3 separate regions of the Homo sapiens genome follow, and all the other regions are linked to region 2. Evidence: promoter capture Hi-C in 16 types of primary human blood cells and fetal thymus (Javierre and others, 2016). All regions are on one chromosome and are shown on one strand. Each heading gives the region's core, a stretch centred on a gene start or on the middle of the fragment in contact. The rest is flanking DNA. Distances are from core to core; before and after follow the strand shown.

Region 1 (4,833 bases), core at 1,276-3,775, 1.4 Mb after region 2:
TATGGTCTGTCCAGTCTCTGAAAATTGACAGCCCTTTGTTTGCACCACTTCATACTGTCCATGTGAACAATTAAACAGCGTGGTTAAGAGCTCAGGTTCCAGAGTCAGATGGCCCAAGTTTAAGTCCTGATTCTGCCACTATTAGCTGTGTGACCTTGGGCAAGACTCCTAACCTCTCTGAGGTTTTTCTATTCTGTAAAATTGGAATGACAACAATACTTTTGTTGACTGGATGATTGTGATGAGGATATGAGATCTAATTTGTAAAGCATTAACACAAATATGTCACAGAGTAAAATTCTCCATCTATATTAGATATTATTATTATTGTGTTTCATGCATGTCCATTTTGTCTTTTCTTCATAAGAGCATAATTGATTAAAGACAGAGTCACAGCACCACATGTTATTTGTGTTCCCTACAGTGTTGGGCTCACAGTATGTTTTTAGAAAATATGTAACTGAGGGGTAAAGTCCTGCTACGGTGGAGAAAGGAGAATGAGGCATAATAGCAAAAGAATAGAAATATCTTCTCTCCTGTTGCATAAAGAGAAGTTTTAACAATGGTTACCATTATTAAGCATTCACCTTTTGCTGGGCACTTTACACAAGTTATTTCTAATCACTATTCTGCCAGATATATATTATTATCCCTGTTTTACAGAAATAAAAGTTGAAGTTCAGGGAAGGTAAGAAATATTGCACGTGACTGAAGTGAAAGGATGGGATTCAAACCCAGGTCCGTCAACTGCCAACGTCCACTTCTACCCACAGCATCCTGTCAATCAGATAGATGCTCCTTCTCTGAACAGGCAACATAGCTATCTCCTGCTGGCAAATGATAAGAAATTAGAGATGGGATTGCCAGATGAGCCTTTCATGCTGAGTCACATAGAGCAAGACATATCACAGGCAGTGGCAAAAGCTGAAAGTTGAGAGTCAGTCTTCAAAAATGCACACTATGAAAAGAAATGCAGATCATAGTCATTTTGGGCTCACACCTTAGCAACTACCATCACCCAGGTTCTATTTGAAGCCAAACAATTGTGGCTTAAAGGTGCTGAATAATTAAGACATTGAATATAAGTATTAAATAACAATATGATGCTTTAGGACCCGGAAATGACAGCCATGCCTTACACTTGCAAAGCTCCTCTATCTCCCTCGAATGTTCACTCGCATTAAGTGAGGGGTAATAAGATGGAGGAATTCACATTGGCAAGGTGGGGACATGGTCTGAGAAGAAAGATGTGATTAAGAGAGGTAGCCAGGATCAGCCGTAAACTCCCAATTGGAAGTTTCAGTACAGGTGGTGGCTTGGACTGGGGCCAGCCGAGAAACATGTGGTCCACACAAAACGTGTTGGGGTCCATATTGTCTGGAAGGACATGGTATTATGAATGTCTTTGTCTGATTGGAAATATCTAGGCTCTCCAAACAACCATTTCCAGATCTCAATATTGTCTGCCTTCCAGAAATGTTTCATCCTAGACTTGAGTTATTCACATTGTTTCCCCAAATGCCAAGTAGAAATGCTTGGGATGATAAAATAGAAAGCACAGAATACATTTGCCTTGGGTGCACATTCTTAAAGCACTTCACCTCAAAGCCGTCCAGAGCTCTGCTAGCTACTAAGAGGGTTGAGGCAAGAACAACCTCTAATAATTCAAAACTAAAATTAGACATTCACTTGAAAAATTCAGGTAACCGAAACAAAAATGAGGGAAGCTTTGTTTATTTAAATTATGAGATAATTGCCACAATTCTCCAATTCCCCTCACTAGGGTAGACTTGGCTTGAGTGTATCAGCATCCATGGTGACTCATCTAGTAAGTAAACTACATTAGCTCTGCTACCAGCAGAAAGGAAAGGGAAAGGTCTTGAAATATATCTATTGTGGCTTCCTTCCAGAGCAAGGGATTTCATTATATCCTGAAGACATGAGACAGTTCAAAGAGATTTGAAATACAGAATGAGAAGGCGGAGGAGGAGAAGTTTGGGATTATACACTTGCTTTTTAGTTTTGATTTTATATATGAGAATCAGACACTACAGACAGAGACTCTAGGGGGAGACTTTATTCTTCTGGTCCAGGGTTTTGTTTTGGTTCGTTCTGTGGTTAATATCTTTCCAAAAAGTTCCCCCCACATGGGTAGGCCTTCAGTTTACTCCCATGTACATAATTTCAAATAAGTATGACAGAAAATCCTTTAAAAACCACACATACATGATTTTCTATTCCATGGCTGAAATGAAACTTGATGGGAAAAAAAAGCATGATGGTGCCTGTTTATTAAATCCAGACAATGCAGAATGACAATAGGAATCATCCTGAAAGAGGCACCGCAATATTTTTGTAACAACAGAATAATAACTTGCTTTGCCTCTGTCTACTTTTAAAACCATTTTATGATTACAAGCATGTAAGCTATTCTAATTATTACTCTAAATAATTAATCATTTCCTTTACAATCACTTATTAATTAGCTGTCATAACATTGTTGTGAGTTAGGTGGAAGACAAAGATTCAATATTCAGTTATTAACACCTAATTAAAATGTTCATTGTTTTCCATATGTTGTTTATAGCTTTGCTTCCTCGCACTTGAAGACAGAATTTCTCCGAGAACAATGTCCTCTATTTGCTTAGCTACATCGCCATCTGTTGTTGAGAAGTAGAAAATGTCCTTTTCTGCTTTTTCACTTAATAGCTTAATCCTTACCTCAGTTTTTATTTGGAATTAAAAAAGATTGATCCCCAATATTCTCCCCCTAAAATATTTTTCTTAACTTTATTTGTTCTGCTGCTGACTACATAAAGTATTCTGCTAATGCCAATGGCATCATTTAAGTAGTAAATTAAGTGAGCCTATTAATGAAACTACAGTGAAAAATTCAAACTACTCCAATAAACTTTTCCAACATAGGAAAAGTATAGAAGAGGGGAGTTTGCTATCAAGTTTGGTTTACAGAAAGTCACCATCGAGGGAAATTTAAGATCTAATAATCCACCAGCCTAGGCAACATGGCGAAAGCCTGTCTCTACTAAAAATAAAAAAAATAAAAAAAATTAAAAAAAAAAAAAGCCAGGCATGGTGGTGCATGCCCGTAGTCCCAGCTACTCAGGGGGCTGAGTTGGGAGAATCACCTGAGCCCCGAGGTTGAGACTTCAGTGAGCCATGATCATGCCATTGCACTCCAGCCTGGGCAACAGGAGTGAGACCCACCCTGCCCCATCTCAAAAACAAACAAACAAAAAAAAGATTGACTATTTCACATCATAAAGATATGTCTTATACTAACTCATTTTTATAATAAAAGCTTATGTTTATTGAGCAACTACTGAATGCTAAGCACTGTTCATTCTTGCAACAGTCCAATAATGGAGACATTGCTGTGTTTGTGCCCACTTTACAAATAGAGAAACGGAATCACCAGGAGGTAAAGTCATTTGCTGATTCAGGGGGAGGCTAAATAATTTGTGAGGCTTAGTGCAAAATCAAAATGTGGAGCCTTTTGTTCCAAAAGCAGGGAAAGAAGTGCCATTAAAAGTATGAAAATATAAAGCTTTTTCCTTTCTTTCTAAGTCTCTCTCTCAACTTGTTATGATGTTTTAATTTGCTATTTAATGTTATTTTAATAAAAAATTTAATGTTGTCATTGTATGAGTTTTACCATTCATTTTTATATTGTGCAATGTGTTTTCAATGCAAATAAAAGAGCATGTAACTCATATACAGAATAATCAAAATTTCACAATTCGTTATTTTGTCGCTCATGTGTGTGTATTTCACTCTCTCCAGAATGGTAGAAATGCTGCACAAAACCAACTCAACTATTTTCATCTCACTTGATATATGCACAATCTACCAACACTGCTCACCTTGGGCTTATTGGTGAGTAGGGAATTACAATTCTCTTTCCTTCTATGTCATCATTTTCAGTACAAGTAGTTAGCCAACACAGAGAAGTAGCATAAGAGAGCATATGGTAGGCTTTCCTGTAATTCATGTTTCTTGGAATGCCTTGGCCTGCTTTCTGCATTCAAAGCAAGTTCTGGCCCAAGCGAAAAGTCAGTGGTAGATATGCAGATATGCCAATATGCCATGCTCACCTTTTCCTCTTTAAGTCTCACTGAACTCCCACATATTCTGGGTCCACCAGAATTCTGTGTTCACAAGGTGTTGTGTACTCTGTAAGGAAATAAGGTAGCAAGGAACAGCAGATACTCCATTATTATTATTGGGCTTAACATACTGTGCTTATCTTCCCTACTCTCATGTATGCTCCAATGTCTGTCAGAATTCACTTGCAAAACATAAGTTCAAACATAAAATTGTTGAGAATTTCAAGACAGTGACAGCAGAGCATTAAAATAAGTGTGAGGCTCTCTGAGCCTGGGGCTCTGTGAGACTACGCCCACTGAGCAGATCCTGAGATGATGGACACACACAGAATGACACATCTGTTTCCAGAGTTCACACTTCTAACCACTGTGCTCTGCTGCCCCTCAGATTATGCCCAGAGGCACCTTCAAAAGCTTCTGCTTTATGTGTCCATTATTCATAGAATTAAAGAAAGATGATGGTGGACAGAGGGCCTTAGAATTCCAACCTTCCGATTTTACAGACAAAAGACAAGAAACCCAAAGAACCAGGATGACAGCCCTGATGTCCTGAATCTAGACCTCCTCAAATTGTCAAAATGAATGTATTATCTCCTTCCCCTTTCCATCCCTTCCACAACCCACCTTTCCTTTGGTGCCCCACTTCTTTGCTGCTCTGTAGTAATCCTGTTCAGTCCCCATGGTTCTGGGGATGTGGACTCTCACCCTC
Region 2 (4,716 bases), core at 870-3,369:
CTGGGCCTGCTTCTGTCTTCCCCAGGCCCTTCAGCTAGGAGCTCTCTTCCTTCCTTCCATGTTTCTGCCCCCTTAGCAACCAGGGGCCTTGTTCCAGTCCCCATGTCTGGAACCCCTCCTGGTAGTGGCAGGCTCCCTAATGGCCTGGCCTTCCAAAATACTTCCTTCCACTGTCAGGCCCTGCTGAGAAATTGGCTCCCTGGGAGCCCCTGGCCTCCTGGGGCGAGGGGTTGTCTTACCAGAAGACAGCTGCGGATTTAAGAATTTTCCTAGTTGACTCACATTGATTAGAAGTCGACCATGCACTGGACATTTTTATATGTACATACGGGCTCATTTATTCATCATAAACCCCCTGCAGATCACAGGACTTTTCCCTTGATCCAGTAAAGAGTAATAATAACAGGGACTGAGAAAAGCTGTGCAGCTGCCCCTCTTTCCTGGTCCATGCAGGACAGCAAAGCTGCCAGATGAAGCCTGAACAAGAATAGGTGATTTAACACTAAAACCCACCAGCCTTTCAAAGTCAGGCAAGGCAAAGATGACCACGGTTCAGAGACTGTGGGAAGGGAGTGGAGATTCTTCTCACCATAATTCTGCTGTACATACGCACATGTGTGCACACACACACATATTTGGGGAACATGCTGCTCCCTCGAAGCCTCACTCAACACCCTACACTATGGGAACTGGGGGAAATGAGGTAGACAGGCTTGAAACCCGCTCCTCCAATTCCTGGCTTGGTAATGCTAGCTGCTGTAACAGACAATGCCCCACATCTCAAAGCCTTCATGCAAATTTGTCCACAGAAAGTCCAAAACAGGCTGGGTGCGGTGGCTCACACCTGTAATCCCAGTACTTTGGGAGGCCGAGGTGGGCGGATCTCCTGAGGTCGGGAGTTCGAGACCAGCCTGGCCAACATGGTGAAACCCCATCTCTTCTAAAAGTACAAAAATTAGCTAGGCGTGGTGGTGCACACCTGTAATCCCAGCTACTCAGGAGGCCGAGGCACGAGAATCACTTGAACCTGGGAGGCTGAGGTTGCAGTTAGCTGAGCTCGTGCCACTGCACCCCAGCCTGGGCGACAGAGTGAGACTCTGTCACAAACAAACAAACAAACAAACAAACAAACAAAAAACGTCCAGAACAGGAAACAGGTATTCCTGATTAGCAGGCAGCTCTCCTCTACACGGTGACCCCAGCACCCCACACCTCACAACCGTGGCATCACATAGTTTCCAGGCTGACTGGCGGAGAGGAAAGAACTCGGAGGACCACACAGCAGAGGTTCATAAGGGGCGGGCCTGGGAAGGATCCCACTCTGCCCACATTCCCTCGGCTAGAACTCAGTCACATGGCAACATCTAACTGCAAGGGACCTGGGGAAATGTCTTTTAGCTGGGTGCCAGTCAGCCCCGGGATCCAAGTTGCTCACTGCTGGGGAGCCTCAATTTTCTTGACTGTAAAATGGGGAAAATAAATAAGACCTGCCCTGTAAGGCTGTGCTTGGAAATAAATTTTGTCCCTTCTCCCCTACTCCTCTCCCTTCTTTTCCTTTTTCTCCTTCCCACCTTCCCTCCCCTACCCCTGCCACACACACCCCCGCAAGCTTACCAACTTTACCTGCCAGCGTGGCCCCTCCATGCTTGCCTCTGGGGTCCTGGGAGCTCAGGACACAGGAGATTAGTCCAGATGTGGCGGACCTAGAGCCCCAGGCTGGTCAGGTGCAAGGTCACGCCCAGACTCCACTTTCTGACTCCTGTGCAGTGCTCCTCCACAGCTGACCGGGTTTTTCTCCTGATGGAAAGGACTCGAAGCTCTTCTCCTTTGCAGCCGTCCCTTTTCAGCCTTCCCAGAGCCACAGCACCTCCGCCTCCCGCAGCACTGTCCCTTCTGCCCTGCAGAGGGGATAGGCGGAGCTGGTGCTCACGGCCACAAAGTGACCAGGTGCCAGTCCTGTCACATCCTTTCTCAATTAATTGCTTGAACCCCTCCCTGCCTCATTACGTAAAGGCTCAGTGTCTCCCTCTTGAGGCTCCCCTACCCTTGGATTGCTCATGGTCCGCGGCAGGAAGCTGGACCATGTCCACACAACGTGAGGATGGAAGCTGGGGTCCTGTGCCGACTCTGCTGCAGTTTCTTCTCGCCGCCACATGGTGTCGCTGTGGGCCTGCAGGGCCACACCAAAGGCCTGCCTATTGGGCTCTGGGCTCCCTCCAGGGTGGTGGGGGCCACGTTGTTCATACCCAGCCTGGGGGTGGGTGGCCCAAGAGCACAGGTCAACAGCTGTCTGGCCTCAATTTATCATCAAGAACTCCCACCCACCCCTCCTTCATCCCCATAGATCTACTTCTGGGTCTGATTAGACTCCTGCCCCTTCATCTCCCGGCAGGAAGGCAGGCTTCCCTAGGTGGTGCCCCCAACCCTAACCCCAGGGGGAGCGCCCAGTGAGGACAAGGTGCTCTGGAAAATAAATTAATTCTCCTTGAGGGCACCTACTACATGGGTCCTGACAGGAGGGGTGGGGTCCATGTGACTGGAGAAACCGCAGGCCGATTCTGCCCCCAGATGTTTCTGTTCATGCCAGGCCTAGAATGCTCCCTCTAGGGTGTATTCCTTTGATTCTGAAAAGGACGCTGGTCTTCCAGAGTTCCTTATTAAAAAACACAATTCCCCAGCGGCATCCCCTTGGCCCTCTTTCTCTTCCTACTTAGTGAGGATCTGGCCTTAAAGCGGTCATGCTTCCCAACCTGATTAGGGTCCCGGAGCCTTCTGAAAATCAGATGAAAGCTTTGGACTAGTCTTTCCCCGAACTGCATAAATATATATCTATATATCTATATATTTATATATATGCACATAATATATATATTTATTTTATATTTATAATATAATACAAATATAAATATAAATATCTATTTATATTATATATATAATATAAATATCTACATCTATATATATATATATATGCACAAACATCCTTTCAGGGGTCCCCTGAGGTGCACACTGGCCTGTGCCTGGTTAAGTTTCCCTTACCTATTAGGAATTCAGCCCTGGGGAAGTGGGGAGGCAGCTGCTTTGCAGCTCTACAGAGTGGAAGGCAGGGGGCCCTGCCTTGTTAGCAGCTCTGGGCACCTGGCCTGGGTCACATGCAGCATCTGTCTTGGGAGTCCTGCTGTGTCAGTGAGGAGAGGGCCCCAAACGGGCAGGCCTGCTGCCCTGGGCGAGCCCACAGGGAGCCCAGCCTCTAGGCACGCGCTGTCTTATAACCTTCGATTCTGGCCTTGGGGGAATTTGTGTTCCCTTAACTTGCTTTCCCATCCACCCAGCCTAAATTTGACCACCGTTGTTTCCCATCTGACAACCTAACTCTCTTGATTCAGTTCCAGAAACCTCCCCACCCCTCGCCTAAATTCCAAGATTCCAAGCCCCTCCCACTTCTGCCTATTTTAGAAAGGCCAAAAAGAGAGGGGAGTGATGCCTCGGTGCCCGCTCTGTGCCTGGCACCAGCCTAGGCATTTTCCGTGTGCTCTCATGTTCCCTGCTCACTCTTGCAGTGTGGGTGATTATTTTGTGGCACAGAGAAATGATGCACCGAAGGTCACACAGTGACCAAGAGGCTGCACTGGGTTTCAGACTCAGATCTGGCTGCTTCTAAACCTGCGCTCCAGGCCTCCTGAGCCTCCACAGGGCAGGCATGCCCAGATCTCAGAGGACACGGTCTCCTGGTCCTAGACGCTGCCCCTGAGACTTCAGGAAGAGGGCCCGGTGGGTGGGTAGAACAGTGATAGCATACGCTGTGGCTGGGCATGATAGCTCAATTCTGGGCCTTGGTGTTCTGTCCTGTAAAATGGGCAGCAGCACCTCCTTCAGTGGGGCACTGTGAGGATTAGACCCTAAACCCTGTTAGCCAGGGGCCCAGCCCCTGGAGACTGTGTAAAGAAGCATGCCACGCTCAGCTGGGGCTGTTAAGGCTCCAGTGAGAGCAAAGGGGTGGCAGGGCTCCTACCCACAGGACTCGGCCATCAGCATCCTGCCCCCTGCAACACTTACACCGGCCTGAGCTGGGGAGCCAGATCCCAGCCCTCCTTGGCAGCTCAGAGTACAGAATTCAGCGAGGCCATTCAGCCCGAGGAGGGAAACTCCTCACGGTGGCCTTCCAAGACTTCCCTCCTGGCTAGTGGCTCCCTTCCGCAGGCTGGGCTCCTGCTGTAAAAGCTCCAGTGGGGAAGTGCTCTCCTCTTCCCTATGAGAAGAGTTCAGGGCAGGCTCTTTATCCCCATTCAATTTGCCTTTCTGTCCAGCCAGCCAGCCCGCGTTTGATAAGCAGAGGCTCTGGGCCAGGCACTGGGGAGGCGGGGAAGCCACTGCCCATGTGGTGAGAGGGCCCAGCATGCGTCCTCGTGCCAGGGGTGGGGGGCAGTGAGCAGCTGAGCCGGAGGACTGTGGTGGTCTCACGATCTATTATGCAGAGAAATGCAGAGGGGTGGCCTACAGGTCGTGGCCGAAGGACCCTCCACCCTTCCGTGAGGGGCGCTGCCTGGAGGGGTTCATCTCAATGGCACTCTGGTGGTTTTCAAATGGCTGAGTGAGCAGGGCATGAAGTTCCATTTAAAACAGAACTTCCATGGAGCAGGATGAGTAAAAATGGGAGCCTGAGAAAAAGTCATGATGGGAGTGGCCAGGTACTGGGCAGCCACCACAGATTCTCCGGGG
Region 3 (4,968 bases), core at 1,310-3,809, 1.3 Mb after region 2:
TGCTTGCCCCGTATGTAACACAAAGGGCGACAAAACGAAGAGGAAGTGAGGCCCTTCTCCGAGGTCTGACGCTTCTTAACCCTACACTACCTTCCACCTGGTCCCAGTCGCCCCCACCCCGACCTCCTCCAGAGGGAAAGGAGAGACCACTGGCCGTTAAGTGCTAATACCCAAAGATCACGAATGACTTTTTTGGGTCTAATTGCGAGTAATTTTTAAAGTCCGTCTTTGATCGACTTGGACGGGAGAAAATATACGGGAGGGGCTGGAAGCGAAGATGGGGGCTGCTCAGGCGACGCTGCCAACCGGGCGCTGTTTGCGGGGCGCTGGGCGGGGCGGCCGGGCCTGACAGACCCCCACCATCTGGTGCCAGACTCCAACCCGCCGGTCGTAAATAACCGCCTCCCTTTTCGGGCTTTCTCGCCCGGCTCCTCCGATTCCCGCTAAAGTGGGAAAAGTGTAAAATGCTGTTTGCGTCCTTTTTTCTCCGCTGTGTGCGCGGGAAGGAGGAGAGCGGCCTGCAGTGGCGGACGCGGGGCCGGGCCACCCCCCAAAACCTGGCGCCCGGCGGGGCGGCCCGCAGAGCCAGGCGGCAAAGGCCGCGCCCCGGGCCGAGCTCTCCGCCCGGCGCCCGGTCCCATTAGGGGCTGTTTATTGCAAAGTAAAACCAACCTATCGCAGCGGCGAAGGCACTTTGTCTCTGCCGGGTCCCTTTCGGAAAACCGGTGACCCGGCGGCCCGGCGCGTCTCGGGGCGGGGGCAGCACAGCGTGCACGGTCCTCTCCAAGCGTTTTGCTGGGGACAAGTGCCTTTCTCTGAGGTTTACAACTCGCCCCGGCTCTGCTCAGGCGCCCACGGTAGCCGGAACTGGGCTGCAGCCTCCCCAGATCACACTAAACCCGAGCCGTTGCGAGGCCCCGGGTTGCCCAAAGATTGACAACGATCAGGAGCTAAGTCTGCTTTCCGGGGACCTCGTGGGGAGCTCTGTGCCCAGCACTTTTCTCTCGGACTCTCTGCTGGGGGAGAGAAAGAAAAGAAAAAAAAAGAAAAAGAAAAAGAAAAAGAAAAGTTTCTTTCGGGGGAAGCAGTGAAACAGGAAATGAAGATTCGCTCTGTAGTTTAGCTGAAAGGAAACGCTGTCTAATCCTGACATGTATCGCATTTAAAATAAAATTCTTTTATCTTCATGCGTGCCAAGCCCCCAGACATTGTTCGGACTCCTACGGGGGGAAAGACGTCATAAAATGAGAATTTGTTTCATTGTGGGTCGCTCTGCCAACACCGGGCTTTAAAGGAACGCCAAACAAAGCGGGCGCCAGGAGGGGGCTTCCCAGGTGAGCCCGAGACGGGATCGAAACTCCTCTCCAGTCCACGAAAACGCCCAAGAATAAGTTGTTGAGTAAAACCCACCCGTCCTCCTTGTAAACCCCCCAATTTCCTTTCCAAAACCCCATCCCTCTCCCAAATAAATCACGAGCGGCTCTCTTCCCATGCCAAGCGCCCTTGGCTTCACAATAAGCCCGGAAGATTTTAAGCAACGATATTGAGGTTTGGGAAGAGGGAGCGTGGGGCGTGGGATTCGCTGCTGCCCTGGGTTCAGTGTTCTTGGTTCTTTTCACGCCAGGCGTGATAAAGCAAAATATTTTAACTGCAACCTACAAGCTTGTTTTTTATCTTTTTTTCCCCTAACTTTTTTTTTTCCTTCCAAGAAACAGATCAAGAAAAACTAATTACAAGGCACGGCACCAAAGTTAAATGAAAATGTAATCCGGCAATAGAGAGAGAAAATTAATTTTTTAAAAGATAGATTTGAGTTAGAAACAAAAATACATTGTTCTCCCTGGTAACGTTTGCTAAACCTATGCTCGATTTCGGGCTGAAAAATCAGTAGTTACCCAGAACTCTGAGGTCACTCTCTGGATGCGTTTTCTTTAGAAATTCTAATTCGAAAATGTTCAAGCCTTCATTTGGAGCTTTGTTTTGTTTTCTGTATAAAAAGGTTTGGGGTGTTTTGCTTTTGTTTGTTTTGTTTTCTTTTTATTCAAAAATACTCCTTCTCTGTTTAGATATAATAGAGTGGTCTTGGAGATTAAGAGAATTTAGGAAAATATTTTTGATGGTGCCCTCAGTTGATATGTTACTGAAATAACAAATTGTTTTTTAAAACTTTCTTCTTTCTAGGTAGATGTCCCATCTCTAAAAATACTCTTGACTATTGGAAACGTGGGCACCAGTACACACAGCTGATGAGCTGCTCTAAGCCAGGGCTTGCTTCCAGCAACTCCCCTCACACCAAATGAAGAGGGTTTTGTTATGTTGGTTGTTGTTAGTGAAAGGTTTCTGTTTTGTTTTTTGTTTTGTTTTTGTTTGTTTTTAAACACTCTTGTTGGGTCTTCTACATCCTATATTATCTTCCTAGGAGAAAGGTTAATTTTCATTTCAAAAATGCGTGTGCTGCTGCACAAAACTCATAGTGCTTCATCCTAAAGATTTTTTTATGTCCAAATATTAAAATACTATAATGATGCTTTAATGGAATAAAATGTTTGTCCAATTAACCACTTCTTTGCTATTTGTTAGAATCTCTAGGAACATAGGCCAGTTCCTTAATGTAGTGTTTGTCCTAAGCCATTAAATACTCCATCTTAATTTTATTACATTAAGATATTCAAAATTATCTTCTTCAAATCTTTGTGTCATGTTTCTTTATTAGCTTGACTCACATCAACTGAGTCTCAGCAAGAAATAAGTTGACAGATGTTAGACAACTTGAAGGGGAGTTATTTGTTTTTAAAAAGATTAAATATTCCTGTCTAATTTATTTTTAAATCTCTCTCTCTCTCTCTGTTTTACTGTACTTGGACAGGGTAGGGCTGGAAAAGAAAGCCACGTCCTCCTTTACTGTATCAGCAGTGAATTTGCACCACCTTCTGGTAGGTTAGAGAATGACGAAAACACCCGCTGCTTCCATAAAAGAATTCTTTTATTCACTGTGGTCTGTTGTCCGATTTGTAGCTGAACTCAGAGCACCACTTAGCTTCTCAGAACTCACAGCTGATCTCTCCTATAGCCTGGTTTTATACAGATTCTTTGAACTGGGAAGTCTTTTCTTTATCATATCCTTGAGAAGGCTCACAAAATCCCCAACCGGTCCCTGCCTGTTAATTTACTGAAATGCCTGGCAGGGAAGTAAAGGATGGCTGGAGAATAGTCATTTCCTATTCTATTTTGGCTGTCCTCTGTAGAGTGCTTGAAAACAAATCGGAGGCTATAACTGTAGCAGCAGAGAAATAAACGCTTCTCTTTCTTGGTTTCATAAGACCCTCATTACCCACAATTAATCATAATGACATGCTGTATTCAGGCTCCTTGCTGGGGACTGCGAGGAACACACAGATGTGGCTTTCTGTAGATTTCAATCCCCTCTGCAGTATGGATTTCAGGATACAAAGCTTGTTAGTACACATTACTAGCCCCTGGATCTGCGGTTTCTCTCAAAAGTGCTGGTCAGCACTAGAGTGTGGAGGGTTTCCCAGACTTCAAATGAGGAACGTTTTTTCATGGCCTTCCTGCCTGGTGATAAAGACCACAGGGTGCAAAGGTTGATACTTCTTTCTCAAAGCCAAGCTAGATTTTAAAAAATGGAATATATACCCAGTAAAATGCAGTATGCATATATGTGTGTGTTACATCTATCTTATGTGAAGGTCTCTTATTCAAGGAGACAATAAACTTGATGGTGTGCACTACAGAATATGAGGAAAAATGAAGACCATGTTCTAGTAACATAGAGCCCCAAATGCTTTGCCTGCAAAACTGAGCTCAGAGAGAGAATGATTCTCAATTGGGTTAAATTAGTGAAATCATTTGATGAATTATTAATCTTATGTTAACCAACTGAGCCCCTGATAGGTGCCAGGTCTGTGAAGCTGAAACAGCCATGCTGGCTGTCGTGGGCTAGTTGCAATTGTCTACACCTGAATCAGCAGGGGCTTTCCAGCTAATTGTGTTAAAGGGATCTACCTACACAAGGCTGTTTGTTACTTGCATGATGTTAAGACAACCCAAACAAGAAAGATCAATAATTATTTTGTCATCACCTTACTCAAAAGTCTTTATTACAAACTTAAGAAGATTGTGAAGAAAGTACATGGAGAAACCTACAAACTTTCTTGATGAATATTCCAAGATAAGATTCAAATAAAGGTGAAAAAGACTGTTTTCTTAAATGCAGAGACTTAATGTTGTGAAGACATCAATTCTCAAATTTACATACAGACGGCCTTCCATATCCATGGATTCCACATTCATGGATTCAACCAATCTCAGATGAAAAATAATCAGAAAAAAAGTTGAGTCTGTACTGAACATGTACAGACTTTTTTCTTGTCATCATTTCCTAAACAGTACATTATAACAACTATTTACATGGCATTTACACTATATTTGGAATTATAATTAATTTAGAGATGATTTAAAGTATACAGGAAGAAATGTGTATGTTATATGCAAATACTACACTATTTTATATCAGGTACTTGAGTATTTGGGGATTTTGGTATCTGAGCAAGGTCCTGGGACCAATCCCCCACAGATACCGAGGGATGACTGTGTATATAAATGAAATCAATAGGATGAGTGAGTTAGAAGTGTGGGATAGAAGGGAATTTGGCAAAGTAATTCTAAACTTCACTTAAGAGAATAATGCAATGAAAACAGTGAAGACATATTTGGAAAACGAATAAAATTTGACCTAATGATATGTTCTATAAAACTACAACTTTAACAGGATGGTACTGGTGTGAAAATCAGACCAAGCAATTAAACAAATAAAGAGTACAGAAAGGATGTATTTTATTAAAGGACATATTTTATGTATTTATAAAAATTCAGTGTAAGATAAAGTTGACATCTCAAATCAAAGGCCTGAATTGCAGATTGTTTACTAAACATTGTTGGAAAAATGTA

The links. The method cuts DNA at HindIII sites, captures the fragments that hold promoters and counts their contacts. A CHiCAGO score of 5 or more calls a contact.
Region 1: a fragment that was not itself captured here is called in contact with the fragment with the promoter of SCTR-AS1 in region 2 in 1 of 17 cell types (naive CD8 T cells); the score reaches 6.5 in naive CD8 T cells.
Region 3: a fragment that was not itself captured here is called in contact with the fragment with the promoter of SCTR-AS1 in region 2 in 4 of 17 cell types (total B cells, naive CD8 T cells, naive CD4 T cells and 1 more); the score reaches 8.9 in total B cells.

Annotation. Positions count from the first base shown.
Region 1 is chr2:118,044,662-118,049,494 of GRCh38, reverse strand. It overlaps LOC102723413 (a long non-coding RNA gene), which reads right to left. Exons shown (of 3, transcript XR_923247.3): 1 at 4,749-4,833; 2 at 4,113-4,191. Among named protein-coding and RNA genes, the nearest start is that of CCDC93, 33 kb to the right of the region's middle. The HindIII fragment of the contact is 1,592 bases long and covers 1,730-3,321 here.
Region 2 is chr2:119,473,857-119,478,572 of GRCh38, reverse strand. SCTR-AS1 (SCTR antisense RNA 1) reads right to left here and starts at 2,119. Exons shown (of 2, transcript NR_147847.1): 1 at 1,615-2,119. All of the region lies in intron 3 of SCTR (secretin receptor), which reads left to right. RefSeq lists enhancers at 3,252-3,802, 4,353-4,716. The HindIII fragment of the contact is 1,181 bases long and covers 1,612-2,792 here.
Region 3 is chr2:118,220,146-118,225,113 of GRCh38, reverse strand. It overlaps LOC105373578 (a long non-coding RNA gene), which reads left to right. Exons shown (of 5, transcript XR_923249.3): 1 at 1-1,334. Among named protein-coding and RNA genes, the nearest start is that of THORLNC, 36 kb to the right of the region's middle. RefSeq lists a silencer at 519-568 and an enhancer at 2,787-3,081. The HindIII fragment of the contact is 1,790 bases long and covers 1,665-3,454 here.